Linked DNA regions of Homo sapiens: region 2 is linked to region 1. The links are contacts of gene promoters, found by promoter capture Hi-C in blood cells and fetal thymus (Javierre and others, 2016). All regions are on one chromosome and are shown on one strand. The core of a region is centred on a gene start or on the middle of the fragment in contact, and the rest is flanking DNA. Distances in the headings are between cores, read along the strand shown.

Region 1 (5,440 bases), core at 179-2,678:
ACATGCTCATATTCTGAAAGGAAGAACTTAAATCCAAACTTTTAAAAACTTCAACTTTTACATATTTTACAAATTTTCAAATGTTACATATTTAGTGTTAATTTTATCAAGACGGGGGACATACATACCATATGGTCTCAGACAAATCACCTAACTGCTCTGTATGTCAATGTTATTTAAAGTTAAATTTTACTTTCTTCAAAGGATTATGGTTAAGCTCAAATGACATTAGGTCCTTTATAAAAAGATAAAAGATAGTTTGTAATATTTTTTTAAATTATCAATACCTTCTGATGGACAGCATCAATGTGCCTTCGATTTAGGTTTGGAAATTGTGCTTTCACAATTTTATTTAGACAGCTACAACTTTAAAGTAAAAAGCTTGTATAATAATTAAAAACTGATTGATTTTAACGAAATCACAGAATTCAGAATCTCCTAGTCACCCACTGATTTAGGGCTAAATAGTTAAATAAATGACTGAGTGTCTGGTAGTTAATCTTTACACAGTTTCACATTCATGCCTGAAATAAGCAAATTGTACATAGGAGTTCAAAGTTTAGAACCTGACTTAAAAATATGTTGAGAAAGCGTGTAGTTTTTCATTAGTAAAGAAAAAAGGAAAAACAATATGCATATTGAGCAAGATTCTTTAAGCATATCATTGAGAAATGGGTAACATTACTCTGCTACGAGTGTATATTTCATATCTAGGATATGAATTACTTGCTGAACACGTTAAGAAAATCAATACATTTGCTTCAGTGTTACTACTAAATAACACCCCACTGGCCTCAAAATAAAAGCAGAAAGGAAAAAAGAAAATCTAGTATATTTTTAAAAAGTGTATCAACTTTCTTTTCTTAGGTTTCATAAAATGAAAGGGGAAGAAACTCTGTTCAAGAGTAGGCATTTTCACTTCTCTAAATAAATATTTAATATGACTACTAGCAGCATAAGACAATTAAAGTTACCAGAAAACAGAGGACTTAAAATCTGTTTAAGAATATCTTTCCCTCGTCTGGAGTTTGACCTAATCTTACCGCTTAAACTCAAATAAGAACAGGACTAACTTTGGTTTGTCAAATGTAACCATATTCAGTGCACTATGTTCATCAGTTCTTTTCTATTACATTAGTAAAGATCTTTTCATTTAACCCATTTCTAAAGGTGGGGCCTTTAGGAAGGTCATACCATTTTTATTTACAAAAAGAATATATATAAAAAAAGAAGAGAGTAGCAGAAAAAAACCTCTAAAACACTATGACAAGGATTCTAGCTGACAGAAGTTTCATTTGGAAAAAACATGGAGTAAACATTAGGGTAGAGAGTTTTTATCAGCGCCTCAAGCTTACCAGCTAGGATCCCAATGGAGTGTTTGGCTCCCAGAATCTCTCCAAGAACCTCTCAAGAATTCCTTGAAAATGTACAGGCCAGATCTTAGGGTGAGAAATTCAAAGAACTGCTCAGACTCCACCCAGTGGAGAATTTATAAATATTTTACTTTACTTCCTCTCCCCTAACCAATCGGTAATCTCCAGCCACTGTCAGAAATTTAAGCAACATGTGCTCCTGCCCACCATTTCAAATGCCAGAGCCTCCAGTGAGGGCTTCTTTCCAGAGGCAACTTTGCTCTTTAAACTCAGGTAAACACACACTTGTCCTTTAACTATATAAATCTCTGACCCCTGAACTGATGAGTTGGTCTTAGAGCTAAATTCCAAATTTTGCCTTTCTTCTTCACTTTGAGCTCTGGATTTTTGAGACAATACCCTCCTTCAAATACACTGAGGATTTTCAGTCTGATGGTTGAATCTATGACATTTAATGGGTAAACTTTTTAGTCAAAAGTTTAAAATAGGCTCTCAATTCCAGAATACACTCTATTGCCTAATATGTGAGTTTTCAAAAACTCCTAGGTAATAAATCTGGACAGTTAACAAGACAATGAAGGAAGAAAGATCTGAAGATTCAAGTGGAAACTAGCCTGGCAAACTTCATTAATGCAAATTATTCATTTAAGTCTGTGAATTGTCTTTTGTTCTAGTCTGACTACCTCTTTAGGCTTATTCCTGAGCTTGGGTCTTTTGATGAATATCCTTGTAGTTATAAAAACTAAGAGCAAAGACTTTCGATATTAGGACTAGGGATGAAGAATGTGCTTGAATAATTGAATGACTTATGCACACCTATGCTTTATTTAGTAACCCACAACAAATCAAGTAAAGTGTCATTTAATCATTTCTATCAAGTGTTCATTGTATAACCCTGAGCAATTCACTTAACCCTTGTGGAGGCTCAGTCTCCTATTTATCAAATGAACTTAATAATACCTTCCTCCCAAGATTACTGAAACGATAAAACCATGCAGGTTGAAGGCCATAGATACCATGACACTCAAGTCAAAAGTGACATATTGTCTTTTTTTTAATCTTAAGTAACCAGACAAAAAGTACTACTCTCCAGTTTCCAAGAGAGGGAGATAAAGTGCATGAAATTGCTTTAATACGAGTAATTGACCAGTGAAAATAAAATATATTTCACTTCATTGATCCTATCCTTACAATAATCCTATAAAGTAAGTAGACTACCAATTGATTAACTTAGAATAGTAAAAGTTTGAATCCATTCAGGAAATTTCAGAAGGTGTACTTTTTTTGCATCTATTCTGTGTATGCCTCATGCTGTAAAAACTTTGGAAGATTACCAGGCTCTAATATATGGGGAGCGAACCAGAGGGCGGATCTGTGTCATTTTTGTGTCACTCTTTTAAAGACTGACTATAGATTTAGAGAGCTAGATATGGACATTAAGGTTTTGTTTTCACAAGATCTTGCTTCTTCTAAAATCTTGTAATAATATGATTAAAAATTTCATCAAAATATTATCTTAAAAACTACTGTTTAACTTGTCACCTTTAAAGAACTTGCTTGGAGGTCTAAGCTATACTTCTATTTCTTATGTTTTATAAATTTCTTTCTTTCTTTAAATTTGTTACATTTGAGGAATAAAAATAAAATCCCAAGCCCCTAGATTAACTGAACGGACACGCTCTTGGCCAAGGGGATCCCAGAGTAAACTTGAAAACTAAGTTTTTGGCCATGACAGGATAGGAAGTGGAACACATACCCGCTCCATCACTAACTATGATTAGGCTTTCTGCCCTATGGCTAAAAAGAAACCAGTCATTTCAAAAGATTACACCAATGACATCAACCATCACCTGGTGTTATCCCTCTCTTTTGTGGTTTGGAACAAAAAGAAAATACTGATCATGGAATGTTTCTGGCTAGTCTATGGAGAATGTGCAGTAAAGGTTTTCATGTCCTCTGCTTCACATTGGGCTGAAAACTGCCCCCTCAGATTGTATTAATGCTGTCATTTTTTGAACACGGATCCCATGGAGAAGCATGAAACTCCATTGTGCATGTGCACATTTCTCCTTTCACAAATATTCATGGCTTCCCCTATAGCTTATTGAATATATATATTCAGCTACCCTGCTCAACATAAATTTCTGTTTCCTTTGCTCCTCCCTCAAAATGTCTGTTTCCAGCTTCTGATTAGAGGCTATACTTTTCAGAGGTCAGAATGATCACCCTGCAGGCTGCAATCCTTTATGTGAAATGAAGCTCTCCTTTCCAAATGTATGAACCTGTCATTCTTCAGTTGACACTTTCATTCATTCAAGAAAAGTATTAAGCATATTCTCTGTACCAAGCACAAAGTGAAATGCCAGGGATGTAATGGGGAGCAAAACTTGTATAATAACATAGGCCGCTAAATACAGAAGGGAATTATGAGAGAACGAGTCATGCGGGGAGGGGTGAAAGCAAGACCCGCTACAGGGCCAGCAGTCAAGGTTAAACAGAGAACACTGTGAGATACCATTCCTTCCTTTTGGAAACAGGAAGAAAAAAAGTGTTGCCAGAATAAGCTGTTGTACAATTCCGAGTTGTCTATTAATTTCCAGGTATGGCATCCTGCTTATAAAATGATATGTTTCCGAGAGGAAAAGACTAATTTTATCCTCCTCAGAGCTCTACCTATGTATGGAGCTAAATAAATATCTACTGAATTGGTTAATTTGTTTTTTTTTAATTAAGATCTAGTTTATTTTCTAAAAATTGATTATTGGAAATATGGGAAAGTTTTGTCCTCTCAAAAGGTAATCTTGAACCATGAACTTTATTCTTATTCTTCAGGGCATTTTCGCCATAGTTAGGCCAGTATCTAGCATTTAGTAGACTAAAATGGGTGCTTGCTGGATCATTAACTAAATTAAATTCAGATCAGCAAACTCTTTATGTAAGAATCCAAGGCTGCACTACCAGGCTGATCATAACACTCTAATGCTGGGTGCTCAGTATGTGAAATGAGTAATGAGATTAAAGACAGAGACAAGTTAGGAAAGAACTAATAAAAAAAACTGCAGTCTCAAACTTGGGTAAACAGAAAATTTCACAATACGCTATTTTTCTTAATTAAATAAAAACGCAGAGCTCACATGTGACTTCTTAGGAGGAAAATTTACTCTGAGTCATTATTGGAACTCTCCTTTCTTCTTTACACAGGGTGTTGGGAAGTTCCCAGATGGGAGGGGCAGATTAGCTTCCTTCTCTCTGCCCTCCTGCCTCTCCTTTCCCCTCACCATATCCCTGGGGCCTTGCACACCCAATCACTCTTTCCAAACTTCCCCTTGGGGATAACCAATATAACATAACAAAAACTTTCTCAAATGCCAGTCATGAGATTTGCCTTAAGCAATTTCTGCCAAGGAACCTACAGCATCTTCTCTATATGGGTAGGGGAAAATATAAAAAACAGAGCACACACAAAATTATCTCTCCTCTCTTCTTCCCTCTCCCCTTATCTGTCCTTCCTTCCCCTCTCCTTCCTTTCCTGCTGCCCCCTCCTCTTTCCCTCTTCTTGCCTTCTCTCCTCTTTCTCTAATGCCCTCCTCTTGCCTTCTCTTCCTCTCTCTCTCTCTCTCCTTTTCTTTTTCCCTTTTTCTCTCTTCCCTCCACTGCACTCTCATTTCCTCACCCATACTCTCCTTTCTTCTCCCTCTCCCTCCTACAACAGGGAAGGCAAAGCAAATTAATATGCTAATAAATCACTAGGCTATGTTTAGACAATCTACTTTTTCCTTCCTGTGAGATACATAGTCTGGTTATTAGAAAAATTTCTCAGTAATGGGCGGGGACTTTCCTACCCTCTCTATATGTTGTATTTTCAGTTTTTCAGAGGAAAATGCAAGGGCTCGTTATAAGCAAATGACATTTTGCCAGTTGGTGATTAAAATTTATTTAGAATCTAAAATTCCTATAACCCATTCCCTTTTTCCTAGATCAGAACTTTTCCCTCACTGTTAAACTCACAAAGGTATAGAAGGCAATCTAAATCATGTGCGGTAGCAGAAGAACTTTAGTAGTTTTCT
Region 2 (5,245 bases), core at 1,639-4,138, 380 kb before region 1:
TTTACTATCTGCTGTGGATATTTCCTGGTTCTACAGGGTAGGAAACCTGAAAGAGCCTTCTTGACACGCCCACCCATGAACAGCCTGAAACTCAAGATCTAAAGACATTATCCCCACCCAGAGGCAACCAGAAACCAAAGGCTCAGGAGCTAATGAACAAATGCTTCATCTTGTCTATCCTTGGGTGGAAAATTCTGGCAAGTTGTCCTAGCTACCCTATGACCAACTCAATAATGGGTTCTGCATTGGCTTTTCTTCCTTCTGTTTCACTCTTGCTAGTTCTTAATTTCTGCTTTCTTCAATCAAATAAACTGCTTGCACACAATTCCTAGTCTCAAATTTTTCTTTCAGGGGAACCTAGCCTAAGCCAGAAGGCAAATATGATGAAACTATTTGCTTAAAAAGATTTGAAACTAGATTCCTATGAACGAAAAGGGTCGGCCAGGCACCGTGGCTTAGGCCTGTAATCCCAGCACTATGGGAGGCCAAGGCTGGTAATCACCTGAGATCAGGAGTTCGAGACCAGCTTGGCCAACATGGTGAAACCCCGTCTCTACTAAAAATATTAAAAAAAAAAAAAATTAGCCGGGTGTGGTGGTGGGTTCCTGTAATACCAGCTACTCAGGAGACTGAGGCAGGAGAATTGCTTGAACTCAGGAGACGGAGGTTGCAGTGAACCAACACGGTGCCACTGTACTCCACTCAAGCCTGGGTGACAGAGTGAGACTCCGTCTCAAAAAAAAAAAAAAAAAAAAAAAAAAGGTCATTCCTCCAAGATACAGCTGTCACTGTCATAAAATTTAGCATAAACAAATACACCATCAAATGCCCCACTATAAAATGTAACATCCAGCAATTACATAGTAAAGGATTTAAGGTGACATCATTCATTACAGTATATGAATGATCCTCCTGACTAAATGGGAATTTAGTGTTAAGTAGCTGTAAAAGCTGCCAAAGAGCAAATGTTATTGAAACAAACATTAGCAACTTATGACTAAAACCTAGGGCATCCTGACCATAGCTACAAGGTTTACTATCTCTATTATGGAGCCATTAGAAACCACCACAGGGTTGTATCCAAGTCTATTAGGAGAATAATTTAGTTGAAATTTTATACTTACAGATGAAAGAGACAGGGATATAATCATTATCGATTTTACTTTCTTTGCAAGGTTTTATTGTTGTTGTTGTTCATATCCTTCCTAAATGTGAGTAGAATGGAGAACAGAGGAAGGATGGGGAATCGAGCCATCTTCCTAGAGAAGATGAGCAACATTCTTCCATAAGCCAAATTACATATTTTGAAGAAGGAATTATTTTTAGTGGTAGAAATAGCTAGTAACAAAGGGAATATCAAGTATGTATTCACAGATTGAAAATCTTACCCACAAATTTAAAAATAAAACCCAAAAGTCTTACTTTCAATATAGGCATTTCCACATTTTCTTGTAAAGGATAATATTAATTCAGTATATAATTCTCCAGATTTAGTGTAATGGTTCTTTGTTATCTGACTTTTACTAAATCAGAAGGCAGTTTAATGATACAGGGAAATATTCACTAGAAACTGAATATTAACTATTAAATATCATCCCTGAGAATTCAGAAGAAAACTTCAGCTTTCCTCCTGGGGCAATTTTAACTCATTATCTCCTATAATCTTCAAAGACTTGTGATCTATATAAATAGCCATTTAAAGGGTCAAGGTTTTCATTACATACCAAGGAGACTTTCTACGATTATTGGAAACTTAAAACCGTACTAAAATTACAGAGATATCCTAATTCTAATTGGTTCTTGTTAAGAATGAGTTAATACACTGATGCTTGAGAATCATCAAAATTTCTTAAATTTTAACTATTTTATTTTCAACAAAAAGTGCGATGTGAACTGAATAATATTTGTCATTTAACTTGAAAATTCATGAAGAAGGATTACGAGTTTCTGAGTCATTAACAATCCTCCCATTTTAATATAACAATTGAATAAATGGGAAGAAATTTATGAACCTCTGTACATTTTCTTTTTTGACATTCTAAATTATATTATTTCTAAAGTCAAATTCAGTGACTGATAACTTAAAAAAATTCATGCTTAGATCCAAATGAGGGATTAAAGCATCTCATGTATATTCTTATTTAAGCAAAATAGCATATCTTTAGATTCAATAAACCTTCTTAATATTTGGGTATATACTTATTTATTTGCCAACAGAAATGAATGTCGATAAAATTCATCAGTCAACAACAGCCAAGAGTAACTTCTTTAGATAAGCCATGTAAAATACACTTTCACATTCAGGACAAAAGATATCCAAGTATCTCATTTCCTCTCCCTGAATCCTCCATTCCACGACAAGACAGGGAGAAAGGACTGCCATCAGATGAATGACATGTAGGGCCAGAGGATGTCCACATTTATATTTTACCACTTAAAGCTCTTCTTTAAATACCTCCCGAGAGCACCCAGTCAAACCGAATCAGAGAAGCCAGTGTTGAAATGCCAAGTAGCCACCAGATGGCAGCAATGCTTTTATGAATAATGCAGCATTCTTTGCAGTCCATCTAAGATTTCCTATGTTAATAATAGAACAATCCTTACTTTAGTAAAAGGACAAATTTGCTCGTAATGAAGCCAGCATTTTTTTCCATATTGCTAGTTACATTTTGTGGGGTTCAATTGTTTTCTAGTATTTGCCCCCTCCAAATATTTATTTTCATATGCATTAAACATTAAATTGAGGTTGAATTTCATATTGATACTGTAGTAGAAAATGCCTGAAGCTTGAAACAAATATTTTCTTTTCTGATGGACAAATAACATCTGTGGTTGTAAATGTTCCAGTATAGCTGTCAAAAGAGAAGGGTTTCACATAATTTTCTGCCACCCCTATCAGTACATCCTACACATCAAAAGAGTATGTTCGTAACCTCCCTTTCCATGAATTGATTTCAAATCTATCGCAGATCTCAAATATCAGAAGCTTGCCTTTTACTTGATCAAGGGCATGGGAATTTTGAAAATGAAGCATTGCTTAAAATTCAACTTCAAGAAAAAAAAAAAGACCACAATCAAGGTCTTTCTAAGTTACTTGGGAAAGGAATCCTCATTATTGGTATTTCCGTTTTCAAGGTGCTTCAGCAATTTGTTAATTTTGCCACTGTAATTTTTTTAGTTTACACTTGTTCACCCAGAAAGTGAGACTGTTAGAATTTCTCCCAGTGCCGGAAATGCAATGTTAGGTAAATTGATGAGGCTGAGGTCAAGAATCTAATAGCTCTCTACTAAAAAGAAATGCATCTAAACCCTCCATGTGAACACCTCTCCCTTGGTTAAGCCATCTCATACCCATCAGTGTTATCTGAAAAGAGTTCAAACAGCTTCCTTCCTGATTTCTCCCCAACATCAACCATTTCATTTCATTGTTTCACTTAGGCCACCTCTCAACATCCTGTTTTGTTAAGATAAAAGAGCAGCCTCCTCCCCTCTTCAAATACCAAGAATCCTTAACTGCCCTGCAGTGTTTTATATCCTTTTGAATTTTTTTTCTGCTAAATGTTTAGTAGTATGTTTAACTCTTACATTGAGAGACTCTATGCATAGATGCCATAAGTGGCCTTTCCAGTTATGCATAAGTGTGGGCATTTTCCTTTCATCTTGAACTTATTTTTCTGTGCATTTCAAGCCTTTGTTTATGGATGCTTGCTTTGTTATTTTCTTATATTGCTTTAAACATTGCTCTGAGGTTTCAGCTTTGCTCACCGCTGCCCAGATTTTCCTCCTGCTCAGTGGCTTGTGGCATATAAACACTGAATACATATATATATATATGTATTTTTTCTCTTGCTTTCAGATCCAGCTTCATTACCTTATGTTTCTAAAAACTGAATAGCGTCATCTATTTATCAGCCAGTGATCCTATGCTATCCAAAAGCACTCAATTTTATTTCATCCTGTGTCATCCTTATGGACAAGCTGTAAAATGTGATACCATTTACTGGCCCCATCTATTATGTACCAGCTTTAGGGATTAAATTGTTCCTTTTTCTGGAATAGGTCTGTTTGCTATTAAAAATCATACACAGCATGAAATACACATGGCTGCTCTCTTTAAAAATAAAAGATATTGAAACAGATATGAAAAAGGATCCCTTGGCTTGAATATTGTCTTGCTAGCATCAATATATTTTCTATACTTTATAAATGAGATTAAAATAACAAGTAGAAAAACCATACACTTGTTGATTCTACCTTACTCCATAAAATTCCCCAGTGGCAGTGGTTTCTTTTGCCCAGGTTGGAGTGCATCGTGTCAAGTCTCAGGTTTGATCTCCATGTGGCTCAGTTAGTCTCATTCTGCTTATGGGAAAACAGAGAAAGTGCGTTGCAAGCCACAGGAGCCCATGGATGGCATAGAGACTACCACACTAGCTCTACCAAATCATCAAGAAACAGAATATGTTCCATGAGAGGAAGGGATTCACAATATGATGTCGGTAAATGAAGAACAGCATGGTGCATTTAGCCTGGTGTCAGACTAAAACCCAGAATTTATTCCAACTGCACAACTCATATCTTTGAGCTCACATAGCCAGCTATTCCAGAAGGCAATGTGAAGTGAGCTATCCAGTTGTCTAAGTTCATTAGATGACGTGCATCCATTCTTCTGCTGAAATGTTAGAAACAGAAGAAGCCAAGTTGACTTTTTTCTTTTGTTTTATGTTATTTTGGAATTACAAAATTTTGGTTCCCTTCACTAATTGGGGACCAAAATGTACTAATACTACTATTTTCAATCTTTACTGTCATCCGGTTGCATGCTGCTTTGATAGTTCAAAAAGAATGAATCTAGTAAGGCAGCATTATGCCCTCTAGTAATGAAACAATGAAGGTGTGCAAATGAGCATACATCCTTGATGTCTAAGGCTTTGACTAGTGAGTTTCACGGGATCACCCAGGCAACATAAAGTTCGTGTTGTTTTCCCTAACGATACACTTAGTTTATAAATCTTAATTCTAGATGTCTAGAATATATTTTTTAAAAAAGTTTTATTATTTCTTAGAAAATTAAACGTGCAAAAAGACAGTGGTTCCCAAGTCACATTATCTGAACCAATAGGCATGTTCTTCATTTGCAGAATGTACTTTCCATCCATCTTCTTGTTTCTGTTTCTCCTTTCATCAGTCAAAGCTAACATGCTCTCTTGATCTCATCTAGATTCTTACAATCAATTTTATTTCC

The links. The method cuts DNA at HindIII sites, captures the fragments that hold promoters and counts their contacts. A CHiCAGO score of 5 or more calls a contact.
Region 2: a fragment that was not itself captured here is called in contact with the fragment with the promoter of KYNU in region 1 in 1 of 17 cell types (monocytes); the score reaches 5.7 in monocytes.

Annotation. Positions count from the first base shown.
Region 1 is chr2:142,873,652-142,879,091 of GRCh38, reverse strand. It overlaps KYNU (kynureninase), which reads right to left and starts at 1,428. Exons shown (of 14, transcript NM_003937.3): 1 at 1,356-1,428. The HindIII fragment of the contact is 4,288 bases long and covers 1,353-5,440 here.
Region 2 is chr2:143,256,842-143,262,086 of GRCh38, reverse strand. The region is part of intron 6 of ARHGAP15 (Rho GTPase activating protein 15); the gene reads right to left. Among named protein-coding and RNA genes, the nearest start is that of ARHGAP15, 130 kb to the right of the region's middle. The HindIII fragment of the contact is 200 bases long and covers 2,789-2,988 here.